7 separate regions of the Homo sapiens genome follow, and all the other regions are linked to region 5. Evidence: promoter capture Hi-C in 16 types of primary human blood cells and fetal thymus (Javierre and others, 2016). All regions are on one chromosome and are shown on one strand. Each heading gives the region's core, a stretch centred on a gene start or on the middle of the fragment in contact. The rest is flanking DNA. Distances are from core to core; before and after follow the strand shown. Region 1 overlaps TET3 (tet methylcytosine dioxygenase 3). Region 2 holds the start of DGUOK-AS1 (DGUOK antisense RNA 1). Region 3 overlaps SLC4A5 (solute carrier family 4 member 5). Region 4 overlaps DCTN1-AS1 (DCTN1 antisense RNA 1). Region 5 holds the start of BOLA3 (bolA family member 3). Region 6 overlaps DGUOK-AS1 (DGUOK antisense RNA 1). Region 7 holds the start of SLC4A5 (solute carrier family 4 member 5).

Region 1 (2,700 bases), core at 43-2,542, 130 kb after region 5:
GCACAGACCACGGGATAAATGAGGAACAGCTTACTGCTGCGGTCAAGCAAAACCCAGGGAAACCCCGGGACACGCTGAACCAGATGCACAACTGCTAGAGAGGGATTAGAAATCAGCTCACGTCCTCACTCCCACCTTCTTTTTATGCATGTTGAGAGGCAGAAATCCTGACCCCTGCTTAACAACAGCAGGGATTCCCTTCTCTCCAAGGGCATAGCCCTCAAGCCCTTGAACAAGAGGTGGGAGTTCCCTTGTTCCTGGGTCCCTCCAAGGCAGGTAGACATCACCATCCTTGCTCCAGGGGCAGCAGAGACCAGTGGGGGCAGGGACCTGAGAGTCTGGAACCACTGCCAAGGGTACAGAGTGAATTGGCATGCCCCAGACAGCTCCATCAAGGAATAGTGCCTGCCATTCCCCAATTACAAACAAAAGCTTACATATAAAATGCAAACACCAAGCCTGGGCACTGTGGCTCATGCCTGTAATCCCAACACTTTGGGCAGGCAGACCACTTATGCCCCAGAAATCAAGACCAGCCTGGGCAATATGGTGAAACCCCATCTCTAAAAAAATACAAAGAATAGCTGGGTGTGGTGGTATGCACCTGTAGTCCCAACTACTAGGGAGGCTGAGGTGGGAGGATCACTTGAACCCAGAGGCAGAGATTGCAGTAAGCTAAGATCATGCCACTGCATTCCAGGTTTGGTGACAGAGTGAGACTCTGTCTCAAGGGAAAAACAAATGCAAACGCTATGGTAAAGATTAGCACACGGATAGGAATAAACTTCACGTAGGACATACTGGGTTGGGGGGATGCATATACTCTGGAGGAGAATAGTAGAAGAAAAAAGAAAGGCACTACCATATGAGAGAAGGTGACTGGGCACATAGGTGTGAACCCATCTCACAATGTTCTGTACAAGCTCTGCTTCCAGCCTTGATGAGTCCTCATCCCCTAAGGGAAGCTGCAGATAAGTTTGTTTGTGCTACCTTGAAATGATTGGAAGCTAAGAAAGCAGTTCTCCCAACTAGTTAGCACTAATGAGGGCTAACAACAAGGGGGCTGTGGGTCTCAGGATAATAATGAGATAGAGGCTCAGAGGGCTCCTCCCTGATGTCTGCACGTGGAAAAATGGCCCAGGACCTCCTTTTTCCTGCGGGGACAAGGAGGGTGCCCAATCTGTTATCCAGATCACAGCCTGCAGGGCCTGGAGCCAGGGCTGCTTGAGATTCTGCTGCTCACATTGGCCCAGGCTGTCACACTTTGAAGAGGTGAAGCTCACTGTCCCTCTCATCAATCTGATGCCACGGCGTTTATTAAAAGGATTTACCGCATGCTAGGCTTTGTGCCAGGTACTGGTGACATGAAATGGAGTGAGATGAGCACCCCACCACTGGGAACTCACACTCAGGCACACAGTATTGCCACGGAGGTACAGACAATATACCATGAGGACTTGAGGGAGAAAGGGACAGAAGTGTCAGAAGAGGCAGCACAGAGCAGCTGCATTTCTAATATGCGGGCAAAGATGGGATACAAAGTATAACAGAAAAGATCCCATTCCCAACAGCAACAACAGCAGCTACAGCATATCTAGGAAGAAACTTCACAAGAAATGTGTAAGAAGAAAACCTTAAAACGTTTCATTTATTTTGTTTGTTTGGTTTTTATTAGAGACAGAGTCTCCTTCTGTCGCCCAGACTGGAGTGCAGTGGCCAGATCATAGCTCACCGCAGCCTCCAACTCCTGGGCTACAGCGATCCTCCCACATCTGCCTCCCAAGTAGCTGGGACTACAGGCATGCGCCACCACACCCAGCTAGTTTTTATTTTTTGTAGAGATGAGGGTTGGCGGGGGGTCTCACTATGTTACCCTGGCTGATCTCAAACTCCTGGCTTCAGGCAGTCTTCCCGCCTCAGCCTCCCAAAGCACTGGCATTATGGGGCATGAGCCACCACACCTGGCCTTAAAACTTTGATGAACACACAAAAAAGACTAGAATAAACGGAAAGGTCTACTTCCCTTTCTCTGGATAGGAAGATTCATTGTAAAGCTATCTATTCTCCCCAAAATAACCTGTACGTTTCATGTGATTCCAACTGAAAAATCCCAGTATTTTTCGCAGAACATGGTAAGTTGTTTATAAGCTTATTTGGAGAAAGAAATGCCAAAAAAAAAAAAAAAAGTAAGAAGTATGTTTTAAACCAAAGTATTATATAAAAATGGTGGTAATTAAAACAATGAAATACACAGAATCAGACAAATAAGTCAATGGAAGTAAAAAGAGGCCTTAAAACACCCATGACTGTAAGAGTACTTATGAAATGCTTAAGGTAGAATTCATACACTACAAGGGAAACTACAAATACCCAATAAATAGATTGGGGATAACAGGCTTTCTATTTAGGAAAAGTTCAATCCCTATCTTATATCGCATGCAAAAATAAATCTCACCTTAGAAATCTGAACATCTAAAATAAAACTTAAGTAAGAAAAGCCAAAATACTGATGAATTCTCGTTGTATAAAAATCAAATTTTTATGATAGACACAATGAAAGACAAACAGGCCAAAATTTTTTTCAAAACGTAACAGAAGTTAGTATCAAAACCCTCATAACGATGAAAGCTATACTATGTTTTCTCACTTAAGATGACAGAAGAAGGCCAGGCACGGTGGCTCACACCTGTAATCCCAGCA
Region 2 (2,700 bases), core at 172-2,671, 170 kb after region 5:
TAAGTTGTGGACTTTCAGAGGAGCCCAGCAGCCATCCTCTTGTATTCTGTCTGGGTAAATGGCACCAGCAAGTTACTGTGTCATTTACTCTTTGCCAGCAATCTATGAGAGGGTCATTTCATAAAGCCCTCTCGTTTAGGTAACTGGGTGAATGCTGGTGCCATTCACTGTGACAAAATGCAGAAGGAAGGATGCCTGGGGATGGAGACATTCGTGTGAAAGTGAGTGTGCAACTGAGGGGGTGAGGCCTGGGTTTGAGATTTGGGCCCCATCAGTGAGCAGACAGCGAGGCCTCAGTTGTGGAGGAGCTCATCCAGGGTGGATATGGAGTGTGAGAGGGAAAGGCTGCCAGGACAGAGCCCCAGGGAATACCAGCCCATGAGGGACAGGAGCTGAGAAGGCGCCGCCAGAGAGGTTGGAGGGAACCCAGCCAGGCTAGAGAGCTGCCTGTCATATCTTCCCGGCCTCTGGAACCTTACACTTCGGCAGTCCTGTTGCTCATTCCTTCTGCCTGGGGAAAAACCCTTCCCACCCCACCCCTTCTCAGCTACCCCTTGTACCTGCCAAATTCCCACTCATCCTGCAAGTCATAAGTGCCAGTTCCATGAAACCTCCAGCTGCTCAGATGATTCCAGAGCCCCACCCACTCTCCCTCCACAGAAGTTTGACTCTCCCTGCCTAGGAACAGTTATCTCATCGGCGCTGGGCACTGGAATGGTTTGCATGTTTCTTTCCCAGTTACTACAAACTCCTGGAAGGGTAGCACGCTGTCTTTCACCTCATAACCCTAGACCTAGCAACCAACCACTGTGTTGAATGAAGAGACGAGGTGAGTAGACCCTAATGAATGACAGACCCCAGTAACACTGAAGACCCATAGGCTTCTTTCCTGCTTTCTTTACGACTTGCACAAACTGGTCAGGGGCGCCCAAGATAAAACAGCCTAAACTCCTCAGGTCCTGCCTTCTGGTTCTCCAGCCTCCTGGGCTGCTGCGGCTATTCCCATTCACATTGCGCTCAGGGCAGGAGAGCAGCGGGGGTGGGCGTAGGGATAGGGCGAGCCCTTCCTGGGGCTGCATTAGCCTAGACGCAGTGGTTCCGCCAAGAGAGCCCCGGCACCAGCAGCATCACCATCTCCTGGGAACTGGCTAGAAATGCAAGCTCTCGGCCCCATCCTAACCCCACTGAATCAGAAACCCTGGGGGCGGGCCCAGCAATCTGTTTTAATTAGTCCGTCAGGTGAAGTCAAGTTAGAGCAGCACTGGACTACAGCAAGCGGGGGAGAAGGAAGTTCAGCACCCAGGTGGAGACTGCGATTAGGCCCCCAAGGCGCTTAGAGCAGACAGAGGGAGAGAGGCTCCTTTTAGGAGCGGGTTTGGCGGGCGCCACCCCAAGCGGCCAAGGGCGGAGCCTCTTTTAGGCGACTGCTCCCGCGAGGTCAGAGCCGGGCTGTGCCGCTGCCCCCGGGACTAGAAAGGGAAATCTCCTTGCTAGAGGAGGAAGCCCTAAGAACTCAAGGGAGATAGGGGTGGCAGGGGCATTTCCCTGGATGCCTGGAGCATGGAGGGTGCGAAATAAGGAGGCTTTCCTACCCCATTGATGAGCTGAAGTTGATTCCGCACGGGGGAGGAAAGGGACAGGAAGCATAATTGGATGTGCAAGCCTGTGGTTCTTCAGGAAGTTAACACGTGGAACTAACACTGTTGGATGCTGCTGAACTCTCAGGTGATTGATGTGACTAACCTCCTCAGGTACTTGACCTCTCTCCTCTTCAGCTAATGAGTAATTTGTCCTTATTTAAGAATGAGATTTGCGTATGGGGACCTTTTGCAGAAATGTAAATACATCCCGATATCCATACCTGGGCTTGGTTTTAAAGACTGAAGGTATTGGGAGGTTTATTTGATTTTGGATGTATTACTTCTTTGGTCATGTATTGGCTAAAAATATTATCAACTAATATTTGCATAGATCTTTCCCTTTTCAAAGCACTTCCACACACATTATCCTTCTGTCTGCACAGAGTGGCAAATACAACAAATGTGCAAATGTTAACTTTCCTTATCTATGACATAGTTTTTATTATCATCACCATTTTACAGATAAGAGAACTGGCGCTCAGTGAGGTAATTTGTCCAAGGTCATTCACTACTACATGTCAGAATCCAGGACCTACAATCCAGGACCTCTGAAATTAGCCCACGAATGCTAGAGCTGATACCAGGCAGAAGCTGGCATTTTGCTCTCAGGGAAAGGGAGGTTCATTAGTGGGTTGCTTGTGGACCTGCATTGGTGAGTGTGACACGTGTAGGATATCTATGCTATGCGTTTTTGGGTTTTTTGTTTTGTTTTGGTTTTGGGTTTTGGTTTTTTTTTTTTCTTTGAGATGGAGTCTCACTCTTGTCACCCAGGCTGAAGTGCAGTGGCGCGATCTGGGCTCACTGTAACCTCTGCTGCCCAGGTTCAAATGATTCTCCTGCCTCAGACTCTCGAGTAGCTGGGATTACAGGCACCTGCCACCGCGCCCAGCTAATTTTTGTAGTTTTAGTAGAGACTGGTCTTGAACTCCTGACCTCATGATCCACCCACCTCGACCTCCCAAACTGCTGGGATTACATGAGTGAGCCACCGCGCCCGGCTACTACGTTTTTCAATAGCCCCGCAAATGTCCTCATGTTTTATAACTAGTTTTGTGACTGC
Region 3 (2,721 bases), core at 101-2,600, 170 kb before region 5:
CATTAACCTTATCCTTCCCCAGAAGTAACCTGAAGTTGGTGTGTATCATTCCTCTACATAATTTTATGATTTTATTACTTATAAATGTAACTATAATCAATATTGGTAGTGTTTTGTTTGTTTTAAAGTTTTATGTAAATAATATCATTTTCTTTTACAACTTCCTTTTGTTCTCATTATGTTTTTGAGATTTATACATGTTAATACATAAAAATCTAGTTCATTAATTTCAACTGTCCATAGTCATCCATTATGTGTCAGTTAGGAAGGCCTCAGCTAAAAGTAACATAAAACTTGGCTAGCAGTTTAAATATAGAGATTTTTTTTTTTTTTCAGATAACAGGAAATCCAGCAATAAGCAGTCCAGAGCTCAGTGATATTCTCAGGAACCCAGATTTGTCTTATCCTTCTGCCTTGTTCTTAGCCTGTGCCTTTGGTCTTCATACCTGTCACCTCATTGTTGCAAGATGGCTGCTTTATCTCAAAGTCTCAAGGTCCGTGCAAGAAAGCAGGAGGGTAAAGGACAAACTGTGCATTCCAACTGTGTCACTTTCAATTAGGAAAATAAAAGCTTTCCTGAAAGTCTTACCCAATGGACTTCCACCTAAATCTCATTGGCTAGAATAGGGTCACATGACTATTCCTAAACTCAGTGACTGGCTAAGGGCAACCAGAATACCGTGAATGGTTTATATAGATCCCAGCTCATGCCTGAGCCTAGGGAAGGTGACTACTGGCAATCAAGGGCCCTGTGTCTCTACCTGAACAAAATAAAGTTTTGTAAATAGGCAAGCAGAAGAGGGAATGGTTGTTGGACAGTGTAGGAGACATGCTAGATGACTACCCAATGCGCATTCTCCCTTTTTCCCTTACTGACAGACTCAATATTATTTTCCCAGTAAAAACTTACTTTCCCAGAGTCCTTTGTCAGATGACCCAGGTGTGGTTTTCAGTAACCACATCTGGGTCACCTTTGTCAACACATAATTTTTAGTAGAAGTATATCCCAAATATTGTGCTGAACATATACTCAAAGTTATTTGTTGTTATCTGAAATTCAAATTTAACTGGGCAAACTGTAGTTTCATTTGCTAAACCTGGCAACTCTATCCAGGAAGGAAGAAGAAGGAAAAGTGAAGAGGCTTTCTTCTGAAAATGCTTTATCTAGGAAGGGACTCCTTCCTCAGGTTCTTTCTCCTGTAGCTCTTCAGCCAGAGAGAGCTGAAGGGTGTCTGAGGGAAGTGTTTCTTTTTAGTTGGCCATAGTGCTACTGTGGCTGGAGCAGAAGTCAGAAAGTCAGAGCAGAAAGGGGAATGGGCATCAGGGAAGTAACTAGCAGCATCCTCCACAGGTGTTTTATACTCCCCAAATAGTTACATCCAGTGGTGATATTCAAAATATTTAACAACCAACATGGCACTGACATTGACCAACCCAAATGAATACCTGATCACTAAAAATGGACACCAATCATAAATAGCAGCCATACCAATGCGTATCGGTGGAATATCAACCCTGTTTCTATTGCTGTTTTCAGGAAAATTAACACTCACTTGATTTATTATGACTGTGTAAATATTGCTCACAGTTGAGTATAGTGTACCATGATTACTTTTCCTTTCTATGACTATTCTTGACAAAGTTTTTGTATCCTCTTGCAACAGTCAAACACATCAAGACCATTTTTCAGATCCAGGTTTTTTTCCTGAAGACATCCTGTCCAGAGCCTGCTCTAAGATGTGCCTGTTGCTCTCTGGACTGCTGCAGGGTTCTTCTCCGGTGACTTTCCTTTGCCTATCTTTTGTGGTGAATCCCGTTTCCCAGACTTAATTTCTTTCTTAGTGCAAGTCCTTCATCTTGCTAGAGTTCCTCCTTCAGTCACTTCCTGAAAAAAAGGTGCATCGAAGGTAAATTTTTGAGATAGTTTATGTCTGAAAATGCCCCTATTCTACCCTCCCACTTGATTGATAGCTTGATTGGGACTGGAATTCTAGGTTGGAAATAATTTTGTCTCACTTTTGGAAGCATGACTTCATTGTCTTGTAGCTTCCACTGTAGTGATTGAGAAATCTGATATCAATTCTTGTTTCAGATTCTTGGTAGATGACTTATTTTTTTCTGGAAGCTTTTAAGATTTCTTTATCCATGAAGTCCTAATGCTTCATAATGATGTGACTTGGAGTGGATTTTTTAAAAATTAATTTTTTCTGAGCTGATCGAAAGTTCTTTCAATCAGAAAATTCTTCCAGATCTTTCAGTTCTGGAAGGTATTCTCATGTTATTTCATTGGTAATTTTCTCTCCACTATTTTTTTATCTCTCTTTTGGGAACTCCTATTATTTTGATGTTTGGGCCTCCTGGATTGATCCTCTGGTTTTCTTGTTTTGTCATAGTATTTGTTTAATCTCTTTTTATTTGTGTTCTATTATCTGATATACTCCTTCAAATTTATGTTCCAAGTCTTTTATTGAAAATTTTCTTCTAAGGTATTTTTAATTTCGAAAAGTTCTGTCTTATTCTTTAAAAACTTATAGGTTCATAGGTTTATAGCATTCTGCTTTTCTTGTCGTCATGAATACAATGTCTTTTCTTGTCTCTGTTGTGATTTCCTCTAATTTGGTCTTGAGAGCTGTCTCTGGAGAGTAGCCAGAAACCAAGATAGCCACTTTCTAGGAGAGCTCTAACCAGGAGGAGAGTAAGGTTTAGATGGTCAGGTGAGAC
Region 4 (2,768 bases), core at 122-2,621, 250 kb before region 5:
GGACTGGGAATCCCTATGGTGAAAGAGTGTGTGTGGTTGTTAAATATTATATCCAGCATTTTTAGTTGCAGTATATCAGAAGTTTCCGTAATATTTAGTCCACGGTAGCACCAGAAATGGAAGCACTTAATTTGTTCCTCTCTCCCTCCTTCCCTCCCTTTTTTCCTTCTTTTATTCTTTCCTTTCTTGCTTGCTTTTGCATTTGAATACCTAATTGTCCCAGCACCATTTTTTGAATGGTATATCTTTCCCTCACTGATCAATAATACAAATTTTGTCATATATTAAGTTTTTGGCCTGGTGTGGTGGCTTGCACCTGTAATTCCAGCGCTTGGGGAGGCCAAGGTACGGGAATCACTTTAGGCCAAGAGTTCAAGACCAACGTAGGCAACATGGCAAGACCCCGTATCTACAAAAATAAAAATAAAAAAATTAGCCAGGTGTGGTGATGACTGCCTGCAATCCTAGCTACTCAGGAGGCTGAGGCAGAAGGATTGCTTGAGCCCAGGAGTTAGAGGTTACGGCTATGATCACACTACTATATTCCAGCCTGGGTCACAGAGTGAGAACCTGTCTCTAAAACAATAATAATAATTTTAAAAAACGAAGTTTTTGTAGGTATATGTTTTAGTTTGTTTTTAGATCTAGACTCTTTCTATCCCTACGTCAATACTATATTGCTTTACTTAATAAACTTTAAAATAAGCACACACACACACAGCCACACTCTTTTTTTTTTTGAGATGGAGTCTTGCTCTGTCACCCAGGCTGGAGTGCAGTGGCGCAATCTCGGCTCACTGCAAGCTCCACCTCCTGGGTTCACACCATTCTCCTGCCTCAGCCTCCTGAATAGCTGGGACTACAGGCGCGCGCCACCATGCCCGGCTAATTTTTGTATGTTTAGTAGAGATGGGGTTTCACCGTGTCAACTGTCTTCTTTTTTTCAGAAGTTTCCTGGCTAATTTTTTGCCCTTTGCTTTTCTCTACAAAATTACTAATTTGTTGTCAAGTTCCTAGAATATCCTGATAGAATATTGATTGGAGTTATCTCAAATACATATTATTAATACAGGGCAACTAACTTCTTTATGACTTTAAATTTTCCTATTCATAAGTGTGCTATATCTCTCATTCATTTAAGCTACCTTTTTTTTTTTTTCCAGATGGACTCTCGCTTCTTTGCCCAGGCTGGAGTATAGTGGCACGATCCCTGCTCACTGTAACCTCTGTCTCCTGGTTCAAGCGATTCTCCTGCTTCAGCCTCTTGGGTGATTACAGGCGGGTGCCAGCACACCCGGCTAATTTTTGTATTTTTAATAAAGATGGAGTTTTGCCATGTTGGCCAGGTTGGTCTCGAACTCCTAACCTCAAGTGATCCACCAGCCTTGGCCTTGCAAAGTGTTGGGATTACAGGCGTGAGCCACAGGCTATCTTTAATGTATGTTTCCAAATATAATTTTGTAATTTTGGGTTGTGCACATCTCTCATCTCTCAGTCTTTTTTATTTTTTTGAGACGGAGTCTCTCTCTGTCACCCAAGCTGGAGTGCAGTGGTGCGATCTCGGCTCACTGCAGCCTCCACCTCCCGGGTTCAAGCAATTCTTCTGTCTCAGCCTCCCAAGTAGCTGGGATTACAGGCATCACACTCAGCTAATTTTTGTATTTTTAGTAGAGACGGGGTTTCACCATTTTGGCCAGGCTGGTCTCGAACTCCTGACCTCAAGTGATCTGCCTGCCTCGGCCTCCCAAAGTGTTAGGATTACAGGCGTGAGCTACCCTGCCTGACCACCCCACCTTTTTTTTTAAGACGGAGTCTCGTTCTGTCACTCAGGCTGGAGGGCAGTGGCACAATCTCGGCTCACTGCAACCTCTGCCTCCCGGGTTCAAGCAATTCCCCTGCCTCGGCATCCTGAGTAGCTGGGATTACAGGCGCGTGCCACCATGCCTGGCTAATTTTTGTATTTTTAGTAGAGACGGGGTTTTACCATGTTGGTCAGGCTGGTCTCAAACTCCTGACCTTGTGATCCGCCTGCCTCGGACTCCCAAAGTGCTGGGATTACAGGTATGAGCCACTGAGCCTGGCCGGGTTGTGCACATATTTTGTTGTTTATTACTAGGTGCATCAGTTTCATTTCAAAAATTATATAATTTAACTTTTCATTGTTGGTTAGAGAAATGCAATTGAGTTTTGCATGTTGATTTTATATCTAGTCACGTTGCTAAATATTTTCTAATCAATCCTAATAATTTACAGATTATTTTGGCTTTTTTTTTTTTTTTGAGATGGAGTTTTGCTTCTTCGCCCAGGCTGGAGTGCAGTGGTGCAATCTCGGCTTACTGCAACCTCTGCCTCCCTCCCAGGTTCAAGCAATTCTCCTGCCTCAGCCTCCCAAGTAACTGGGATTACAGGTACGTGCTAGCATGCCCAGCTAATTTTTGTATTTTTAGTCGTGATGGGGTTTCACCATGTTGGCCAGACTGGTCTCGAACTGCTGACCTCAAGTGATCCACCCACCTTGGCCTCCCAAAGTGCTGGGATTACAGGCGTGAGCCACTGCACCCGGCCTATTTTGGCCTTTTCCATGTAAGTCATCATATCATCTGTGAAAAATGACAGTTTAATTTCCTTCTTTCTAATCTTTATGTCTTTTATATACGTTTTTCTTGCCTTGATGCACTAGTTCAAATACAGTGTTGATCAGACTCAGAGATATTCGGCATCTTCGTATTCCTGATTTTAGAGAATCTAATGAGATCTTACATTCTTTT
Region 5 (2,700 bases), core at 68-2,567:
TTCACCATTACTACCCTGCTTGAGAAAAAATTTTTTTGACAGTTTAAATTGCATCATTGACAGCAATGAAGAAAACTTAGCAAATCATCTCTAAACATTTTAAAAGAATGAAGCAGAAAATGTAAGACAGGCTAGTAATTGATCCAAAGGAGAAATTCTGAAGGCCAGAACATAGGAGTCAGTTAATACTGTAATAAATAAATTAGACAATATCCATATATAACAACTATAGGTCCAATCCATCCAAGTGCAACGCTGAAGGGACGTATTGATTGCATAGGCCAGAATGTTGGCAAAAAGCTGGTAAATCCTGCAGGGTGCCACCAGACCGCGTGCTGCAAACAAATAACAGCTAGAGAGAGGAGAGGCTTGGTTGAATTTCGGCCTTGACTGGTCTGAAGACTCCAGAGGCGGGACGAATTTGCGGACAGTTCTACCCCATCCCACATGGCGTCAGCTTCCCTTCCATTCTCATGACTCCATGGTCCATGGCTCCAACCTGGGCCTCTGTTAGGCTGTGTCCTGTGGCACCTTAAACTCAGGCAAATTAAGAACTGTTCGTGGACTCTGCTCAGCCCCCACCTAACCCTCCATCCAAGTCATTGTCCAAGCCAGAAACTGGAGTCATCTCAGATACCTTCCCACTCACACCTCCACATGCAGTCGCTCGATTCCATTCACCTCCCAAGTGTCTCAGTTCATTCTTCCATCCCTCCCGCCACTGGTTTAGTTAGGCCCCTCCATTCTCACCTGGACCATCGCGGTAGCCTCGGAGCTTCTGACTGTGTCTCTGGTTGCAGCCCCTACACGCTCTCTTCCTTACAGGAGCGGAGCGATCTTTCTCAAGCGCGAATCAAATCCTTCCACGAGTCCCCGCACCTGGAGCGAAGGCCAAACTCCTCAGCTTAGAAGCTAGACTGCCAGAGTAGGGAGTGGGAATGGAAAAGTACATCAGGAGCACGAGGGGTATTCGGATGAGGGAAGGCCAGTATAGGGCGCCGAGACCTTGGAGTGTTTCTGAGCTGAGGAGGAATGAGACTTTCACGCGGGCAAGGGGACCCTATCCATGAAACAGGCCCTGGGGAGACTGAAGGAGAGCGGCGCGAGCGAAGGCAGAGGGCGGGGCCCCGAGGTCGGCAGGCGCTGCAGTGTCGGGGGTGGCGAGTCAGCCAGGGCCAGGGGATGGCGGGGTGGGGCCGGAGCCAGGCGACCGGAGGCCTCCGGGGCGGGGCCGGGAGGCTGACGGCCTCCGGGCGGCAGGGGGCGGCCTCTCCCACGGCGGCGGCTCTCGGTCCCCCGCTCCGCGTCTTTCGGGCATACAGTGACCTCGGGCGGCGGGTCACGTCGGCCGGGCATGGCTGCATGGAGCCCGGCCGCGGCAGCGCCTCTCCTCCGCGGGATCCGCGGGGTGAGCGTGGGCAGGGTCGGGGCTGCTCTCCCCGGGACGGGAGCTGCGGAGGGACCGCGGGGCCGGCGGCTGTCGGGGCTTGAGGACTGGCTCCCGGAGGGCGCGCGCGGCACTGGCAATGGGGGGCTCCTCTTCCTTTCTCTCATTCATTCTTTCATTCATTCATTCACTCAGCGACAACGGCATTCGAAATTTCAAGCTCTGGCGCGCTCTAGGGGAGCTCCCGAGCTGGGTGGAGGTTGGAGGTCAGGCGGACAGACACATGAACAGTCATAATACTGCGGGCACAGGAAAAAAAAAGGATTGGTTTACCGAGCAGAAGACAGGAGTCATAGCCCAGAGTCAAGGCGTGGGTGCGAGGGACTGCAGCGGGGCCGGGGCCTTGGGAAGGTCGACTGGGCCTCTGACCTTGATCCTCCTCCAAATCCCACACTACCGGAGCAGAACCCAAGCAGGGGGCACTTCCCACGCGCTCTCCTAATCTCTCCCCCTTTCTGAACCATCCTTTGCTTCAGCTCATACCATTCTTTCTCTTAACTTTCATTTTCCTTCTCCCCTGGTTCTGAACCTGCCTGCCCTGTGCATGAAGAGAAGTTCTTCCACTGCGGTGACTTTCAGCGTGGACAGTGATCATCTGGGGATGTCAGTTGATTGTTCCACTAAAGGCCGCTGCCCACAGATCCGCTAAGATGAAAGGCTTCTCCCAAGGATTCTGCAACGCTCACCTCTCTCACCCCTTAGTAGCTGCCGATTCTGTCTGCCATCTGGTTACTCTCTGCCTTTACCCTCAAGATTCTGCCCCCAGAAGCAGCTCCACCCCACCCTCACTCCTGGCAATCCTGTCCAGCCTCTCAACATCGAGTTTCTGTCCCTCCACACAGCAGGCAGACAATCACACTCTGGACCTTTCTCCTGTCTTGCATTTCTGTCCCTAATTGACTAGTTCTTCCCCTGCTCATTCATTCATCCAGCACCAAGTGCCTCTGAGGGCCTGCCCTGGGGTCAGCTCTGGGATGCTGCCGGACTCATTCCTGGCCTATAAGACCAGTGGTGAGAGAGCCAGTGCACAGCTCATTTTAAAGGAGGTGCTCTGAGATTCTGTGACACAGGACCCTGCTCTGAGCTATCAGGAAGGACTGAGGGGTAGAGGGGTGGGACCTTCAGCACCAGCACCCATGAACGGCCCTAGTGTCCTCCAACCTGTCATCCACGTCTAGTCAGGGACCAGTGCCCGGTGCTTCCATCATTGTAATGCCTCTTACTTGGGCATCTCTCCTGACTCGCTCCAGAAG
Region 6 (2,747 bases), core at 217-2,716, 180 kb after region 5:
CAGAAAAATTGCAAAGACAACACAGAGTTTCTGTGTATCCCTCATCCAGATTCCCCTAATGCTAACATCTCACATGACATGGTACACTTGTGAAAACTGACAAGTTACATCAATTAAACTCCAGACTTGATTTGGATTTCACTAGTATTTTCCACTAACGAACTTGATCTGTTCCAGGATCCAATTCAGGATACCACTGTGCATTTGGATACCAACTTTTTTTTTTTTTTTTTGAGTTGGAGTTTCGCTTTTGTTGCCCAGGCTGGAGTGCAATGGCACCATCTTTGCTCACCACAACCTCCGCCTCCTGAGTTCAAATGATTCTCCTGCCTCAGCCTCCCAAGCAGCTGGGATTACAGGCATGCGCCACCACACCCAGCTAATTTTGTATTTTTAGTAGAGATGGGGTTTCTCTATGCAGACTGGTCTCGAACTCCAGATCTCATGATCTGCCCACCTCAGCCCCCCAAAGTGCTGGGATTACAGGTGTGAGCCACCACGCCCGGCCACCAACATTTTTAAAGAAGAATATTAACATGATTAAAGGTTTTTAGGCTGGGTGTGGTGGCTCACACCTGCAGTCCCAGCACTTTGGGAGGCTGAAGTGCGTGGATCACTTGAGGTCAGGAATTTGAGACCAGCCTAGCCAACATGGTGGTGTTTACTAAAAATACCAAAAAAAAAAAAAAAAAAAAAATTAGCCAGGCATGGTAGTGTGCACCTGCAGTCCCAGCTACGTGGGAGGCTGAGGCAGGAGAATCACTTGAACCCAGGGGGCGGAGGTTGCAGCGAGCTGAGATCATGCCACTGCACTCTGGCCTGGGCGACAGAGCAACGCTGTCTCAAAAAATAAAAATAAAAATAAATTTAAAAAAAATAAAGGTGTTTTAAGAAAATCATCTGATAGCAACATAAAGGGTGAGCTGGGAAGTGGAGTAGAAGGCATCTGTAAAGACACTCCAGAACCTTCACCAAGCTTCCACATACATTCTAATGGCTAGTGCCTGAAGGGCACTTTATGAAGGTGCAGTTGCTGAGAAGAGAAAATCTAGCCCCCCAGAAACATCTCTCCACCTGTTCAGGGACCCAGGGGCCAAAGGCACAGCTAAGATGCACCTGGTGGCCTCCACCTAGCAGTGCTGGCAAACTAGGTTTTCCTGCCCAGGCTACAAAATTTGGCTGGTAAATCCAGACAGGCAGCCAAGGAAATGCTTGCTTGCCTTCTTTTCTGAAAATCTAGTCTTATCTCCCTTATGTAATGGTTTGGTGTTATGCAGAGAACAGGCTCTGGAGTCAGGATGGACCTAGGTGTGAGTCCCAGCGCTGTCAGTTACTGTGGGACTCTCGTTGAGTTACTGAACTCTGAGCTTCAGTTTCCTCACTGGTAAAAACTGGCACCTTAAACCTCCTTCACAGGATTATTGAGAGGGTTGAATAACATTTAGAAAGTGTTCAGTAGGGTAGCTGGCACACAGTAGGCATCTGATAATCATCAACTCCTTTGACAATTTAAGAGTAGAGTCCAGGCCCCAAATTTCTTGCATATTCTCAGTGCTTAGTACACAGAAGGGACTTCCTCAATTGATGATCGTAATATAGAGCTCACAAATAACCCAGGAACCTGAGAAAGGGCGGAGCGTGTCTCCAGTCAATAATTTCTTTATTTAAAAGTCTATGTTAGGCACTCATGAAACAGCAATAAATAAATAAATGCCAGGCATTGTACTAAATGACCAAGACATGGTCTATGTCAAGAAGGTCAAGGCCAAGGACATCAAAGAGATGTCTCCAGACAACTTTCATTCAGGTATGACACGTTTGACAGAAGTTTAATAAACAGGGTGCTCAAGGGCACAAAGACTGGACATGGTGTGGGGTGAGGGAAGGGCTCCACAGAGAGAGGAATGGTGGGCTTGGGCCTGGCAGGGTGAGTAGTTCTTCCAGTGTAAAAGCTTGGGGTGGTGGGTGGGGGGTGGGAGAGAAAGAGAGAGAGAGAAACATTTTGTCATGTGGGAAAACACATCTGAAGCTATGGGTGGTCTCGTGGGGTTTATGGTAGGAGTGATGGGAGATAGGGTTATAAAAACATGGTAGCTCTCATACCTCCACATAGGAGAGGCTGAGGGGCAGCTCTCTGGTGGCAGGGGTGGGGCAGGTGACCTGACCTAGCAACCACTGTTCTTTTTTATACATCATTTAGTTGATGTGGCTTGGGGAAGAAATGATTACTGGTAGTAGTAATTGGGGGGCAGGGGAGGGGCCATTCCTGCCATTCCTAGGCATGGCCACTGCTACAATGGGGACCATATGACTGCTATGGAAGAGGAGGAGAGGTGGGATGAATGCTGGGGAGTCAACCACAATTTCCACTACACCTTCAACTAGAGAGACAGAAACAGGTGCAGAGAAGATTTGAAAGATTTCAGAGATGAATAGGCAGAATTTGTTGAGAATGAGTGTAAGTGGGGGGTCAAAGATAACACCAAGGTTTTTAATGTGGCCAACGGGGTGAATGGAGAAGCAGGGGAAATGGCTTTGCTGGCTGGGTTGGGGTAGGGTTGGTGGTGGGTATGCGGGTGGGGAGAACTGTTTTGTACCCATTGAGCATAAGGGATCCGGGTTGTGAAATCCATAGTTTGATATAGCTCTAGCTTTAAAAGACATCCTCCTGTTTGGGATTTGCTTCAGAATAATGAGAGTGGGGGTAGGCTGTAGGTGAAACCAGATTGGTTCTGAGTAGATAACCG
Region 7 (2,700 bases), core at 197-2,696, 190 kb before region 5:
GTGAGAACCACTGAAGACGCAGACATTAGATTAAAAAACAGAAAAATGAATGTTACTTTTACAGTGGCTATGAATAGACAAAGACTTTTTGGTTTGAAAATAGTTGGTGAGGCAATAGAGGAGGGGCTATGTTAATAGCAGAGATAGAAAAAACGAGAGGTGGATGGTTCCAACTGCAAGGTCCACCCTAAAGGAATTGGAGTCAGGGCCCAGGAGCCACAGGCCACTGCACTGGGGTAAGTAGAGTGGATTTTACATAAATAAAGTTACAGAGTGGTTGTAGGTTCTGGTTTGGAGATGTGAGTGAACCAACTGAATAGAATAGGCAGATTCCCCAGCCCACCAAGAGTCAGATGAGAATTTTATTGCTTTTTGCTAAAGGCCTGTACAAGACTTAGAGCAAAGATAAGGAGTAACCTGATTGTTGAAACTAATCTATAAGTATTCCAACATAGCAAAGGACAAGTAACGGAATGACGAGGTTTTCCTGTAGTAGTGTTGCGATTTTGTTCTGCTGTGTCCCCCTACTCCAGTTTCCTCTGTGAGGGGAGCGTGTAGTGTGTGCATATCTGTGGAATGTCAGACTTCTAAAGTCAGGGGCTGAGACCTATATCTAGTTAGACCTCTGTGCATATTCTTGAGCCATGGGAGTCTCAGTGGTTGATAGTACTTCACACTTCTTCCAGTTCAATAAGGGTTACCTATGGTGTCTCCTCTGAGTCTCCTAGGAGTCCAGAAAACATGAGACTTGTATAAGAATCCACACTTCAACTAAGCTTTCTGGCCCAAAGAAGGCATTGTTACCAAGGATCTGTTTCTTGAGGTCTTTAGGGAGTGAGAGGGAAGGAACGCATGAGGAACCAGAGCTAGTCCCCATCTCTCTCCCTAGAAGTGACAGACTGCATAGCTCTTATGTATCAGGAGTCCTGGAGATCAGCTGGCTTTCCTTAAAAAAGGGTCATCCAGCCGTGATGAAATCCTGACTTAGAAACCCAGTGCCCTTAGCTTTGTGGGCTTCTGTCCCTGAGAAATGGTGTTTTACCCTCCCTCCAAGCAGGCATCCCAGGATTTGGAATTCAGCTGTGAGCTCATGAGCTGATGGATGTTTCCAGGAGTACCCTGAAGACCACCCAGGTATGCTCTCCCCACCTCCTTTATTTTGGATGGACCAGTCTAAGGAGAGTCATCTTTTCCCACACCATTGGTGGCACTCAGTGAGTGGCTTGTTGCTTGACTGAATGCCTGCCCACACCCTCTCCAGTCAAGTTTATCTTGAGTAACTAAACACTTAGCAATGGAGACACTCATACATCTCCACTGCACTAGAAGTAGGGATGGTGGCCATGCCAACAAAGGAGATAACTTTAGCACAAAGGATGTCACAAGAAACAGATAGTAGAGTGTGTTCTCCAGTGTTATCATTTCCCAAACCAGAATCAACTGGTCTTGGGTTTCCTTCCCTCATCCTTCATCTGTAGAAAACTTTGTTTCTTGAGCTACTTCAGATCTACTTCCCTATCTTAAGAGGTGGGCTATGTGCTTCTTCTGCTAATTTATTATCTCAGAAGTACATAATTTGAGCAATTTTATATAGTTTTGAGGACAGGAGCCCTGTAAGAGTCTCTTACTCAGAAATGGATTCAGCTTGGTTTGAGGTTTAATAGGTCATTGCAATGCTCCCTTCTGGTATCACAGGACATAAGCTGGGTTGGGCGGAGTCCCCCTTTTGTGTCTTAGCCTTCCTCTCCTTACTCCAGAGTAAGAGCAGCCCTGATGGAAAAACAAAATTACCATCCATGCCTACTTCATTTCTGCCCCTCTTACTCTAAGTCTGGGCAATCCGCAACATCTTTTTATATTGGACTTCCTAGATCACAGACTCTTTTTTTAGGAAGAGTCAATTCAAGCCACCCAGGACTTATGATCCCTTGCTCTGTGTCGGGCACAGTGTGAGCACAGTAATGGCATGGGCTGCCTGATGTGGGGCAGTCCCTCTTGGTCAGCAATTCACTCAGCAGCCATCTCAGTGCCCCCTGTGTAAATTTGAGGCACTTTGCCAGGCTGTGGGAACAGTGTGGGGTTAAACAGCACATGGTCCTTGCCCTCAGAAAGCTTAAAATCCAAAGTCAGATACAAGGTTATTTAACAGATGCGTGTTAATTAACAATTAAAGCTAATGTGCACTGTTCCATTGAACAAACATGACTTATGTGGTAAAATCAGAAAGCAGCTTGATTTTTGTCTCTTACTGCTCTTTTACATTTACTCTTTTTTTTTTTTTTTTTTTGAGATGGAGTCTCGCTCTGTCGCTAGGCTGGAGTGCAGTGGCACAATAATTGGCTCGCTGCAACCTCCACCTCCTGAGTTCAAGCGATTCTCCTGCCTCAGCCTCCTGAGTAGCTGTGGTTGTAGGCACCCACCACCACGCCCAACTAATTTTTGTATTTTTAGTAGAGATGGGGTTTCACCATGTTGACCAGGCTGGTCTCGAACTCCTGACCTCAGGCGATCCACCCACCTCGGCCTCCCAAAGTGTTGAGATTACAGGCGTGAGCCACTGCACCCAGCCTCTTTTACATTTATTCGGTGGGACTAGCTCTTGCTTTGCCCCTGAATGGAATTTAGGCAAGTCACAAGGTTGTTCCAGCCACCCTTGGTCTCAGTCTCATTTTAATAATTATAATTTCCAGTCCTACCTAA

Evidence for each region. Contacts are between HindIII fragments. The CHiCAGO score rates a contact against its expected background, and 5 or more counts as called.
Region 1: a contact is called between a fragment that was not itself captured here and the fragment with the promoter of BOLA3 in region 5, in 4 of 17 cell types (activated CD4 T cells, erythroblasts, naive CD8 T cells and 1 more). The highest score is 7.5, in activated CD4 T cells.
Region 2: the fragment with the promoter of DGUOK-AS1 here is called in contact with the fragment with the promoter of BOLA3 in region 5 in 16 of 17 cell types (activated CD4 T cells, naive CD8 T cells, erythroblasts and 13 more); the score reaches 16.2 in activated CD4 T cells.
Region 3: a contact is called between a fragment that was not itself captured here and the fragment with the promoter of BOLA3 in region 5, in 4 of 17 cell types (naive B cells, M1 macrophages, total B cells and 1 more). The highest score is 5.7, in naive B cells.
Region 4: a contact is called between a fragment that was not itself captured here and the fragment with the promoter of BOLA3 in region 5, in 2 of 17 cell types (naive CD8 T cells and naive B cells). The highest score is 6.0, in naive CD8 T cells.
Region 6: a contact is called between a fragment that was not itself captured here and the fragment with the promoter of BOLA3 in region 5, in 7 of 17 cell types (activated CD4 T cells, erythroblasts, naive CD4 T cells and 4 more). The highest score is 9.3, in activated CD4 T cells.
Region 7: a contact is called between a fragment that was not itself captured here and the fragment with the promoter of BOLA3 in region 5, in 1 of 17 cell types (activated CD4 T cells). The highest score is 5.6, in activated CD4 T cells.

Annotation. Positions count from the first base shown.
Region 1 is chr2:74,018,231-74,020,930 of GRCh38, reverse strand. All of the region lies in intron 3 of TET3 (tet methylcytosine dioxygenase 3), which reads right to left. Among named protein-coding and RNA genes, the nearest start is that of TET3, 35 kb to the right of the region's middle. The HindIII fragment of the contact is 1,716 bases long and covers 435-2,150 here.
Region 2 is chr2:73,980,160-73,982,859 of GRCh38, reverse strand. DGUOK-AS1 (DGUOK antisense RNA 1) reads left to right here and starts at 1,421. Exons shown (of 2, transcript NR_104030.1): 1 at 1,421-1,725. The HindIII fragment of the contact is 8,489 bases long and covers 1-2,700 here.
Region 3 is chr2:74,319,801-74,322,521 of GRCh38, reverse strand. All of the region lies in intron 5 of SLC4A5 (solute carrier family 4 member 5), which reads left to right. Among named protein-coding and RNA genes, the nearest start is that of SLC4A5, 22 kb to the left of the region's middle. The HindIII fragment of the contact is 1,554 bases long and covers 574-2,127 here.
Region 4 is chr2:74,397,097-74,399,864 of GRCh38, reverse strand. It overlaps DCTN1-AS1 (DCTN1 antisense RNA 1), which reads right to left. Exons shown (of 3, transcript NR_158174.1): 3 at 1,197-2,768. Among named protein-coding and RNA genes, the nearest start is that of DCTN1-AS1, 13 kb to the right of the region's middle. The HindIII fragment of the contact is 2,857 bases long and covers 1-2,768 here.
Region 5 is chr2:74,146,529-74,149,228 of GRCh38, reverse strand. It overlaps BOLA3 (bolA family member 3), which reads left to right and starts at 1,317. Exons shown (of 4, transcript NM_212552.3): 1 at 1,317-1,408. The coding sequence starts at 1,355. It overlaps BOLA3-DT (BOLA3 divergent transcript), which reads right to left and starts at 1,248. Exons shown (of 3, transcript NR_045636.1): 1 at 1,006-1,248; 2 at 751-879; 3 at 1-531. RefSeq lists an enhancer at 904-1,563 and a silencer at 1,097-1,576. The HindIII fragment of the contact is 11,442 bases long and covers 1-2,700 here.
Region 6 is chr2:73,964,091-73,966,837 of GRCh38, reverse strand. The region is part of intron 1 of DGUOK-AS1 (DGUOK antisense RNA 1); the gene reads left to right. Among named protein-coding and RNA genes, the nearest start is that of DGUOK-AS1, 16 kb to the left of the region's middle. The HindIII fragment of the contact is 976 bases long and covers 979-1,954 here.
Region 7 is chr2:74,340,892-74,343,591 of GRCh38, reverse strand. SLC4A5 (solute carrier family 4 member 5) reads left to right here and starts at 176. Exons shown (of 31, transcript NM_133478.3): 1 at 176-236; 2 at 1,058-1,134. The HindIII fragment of the contact is 1,336 bases long and covers 779-2,114 here.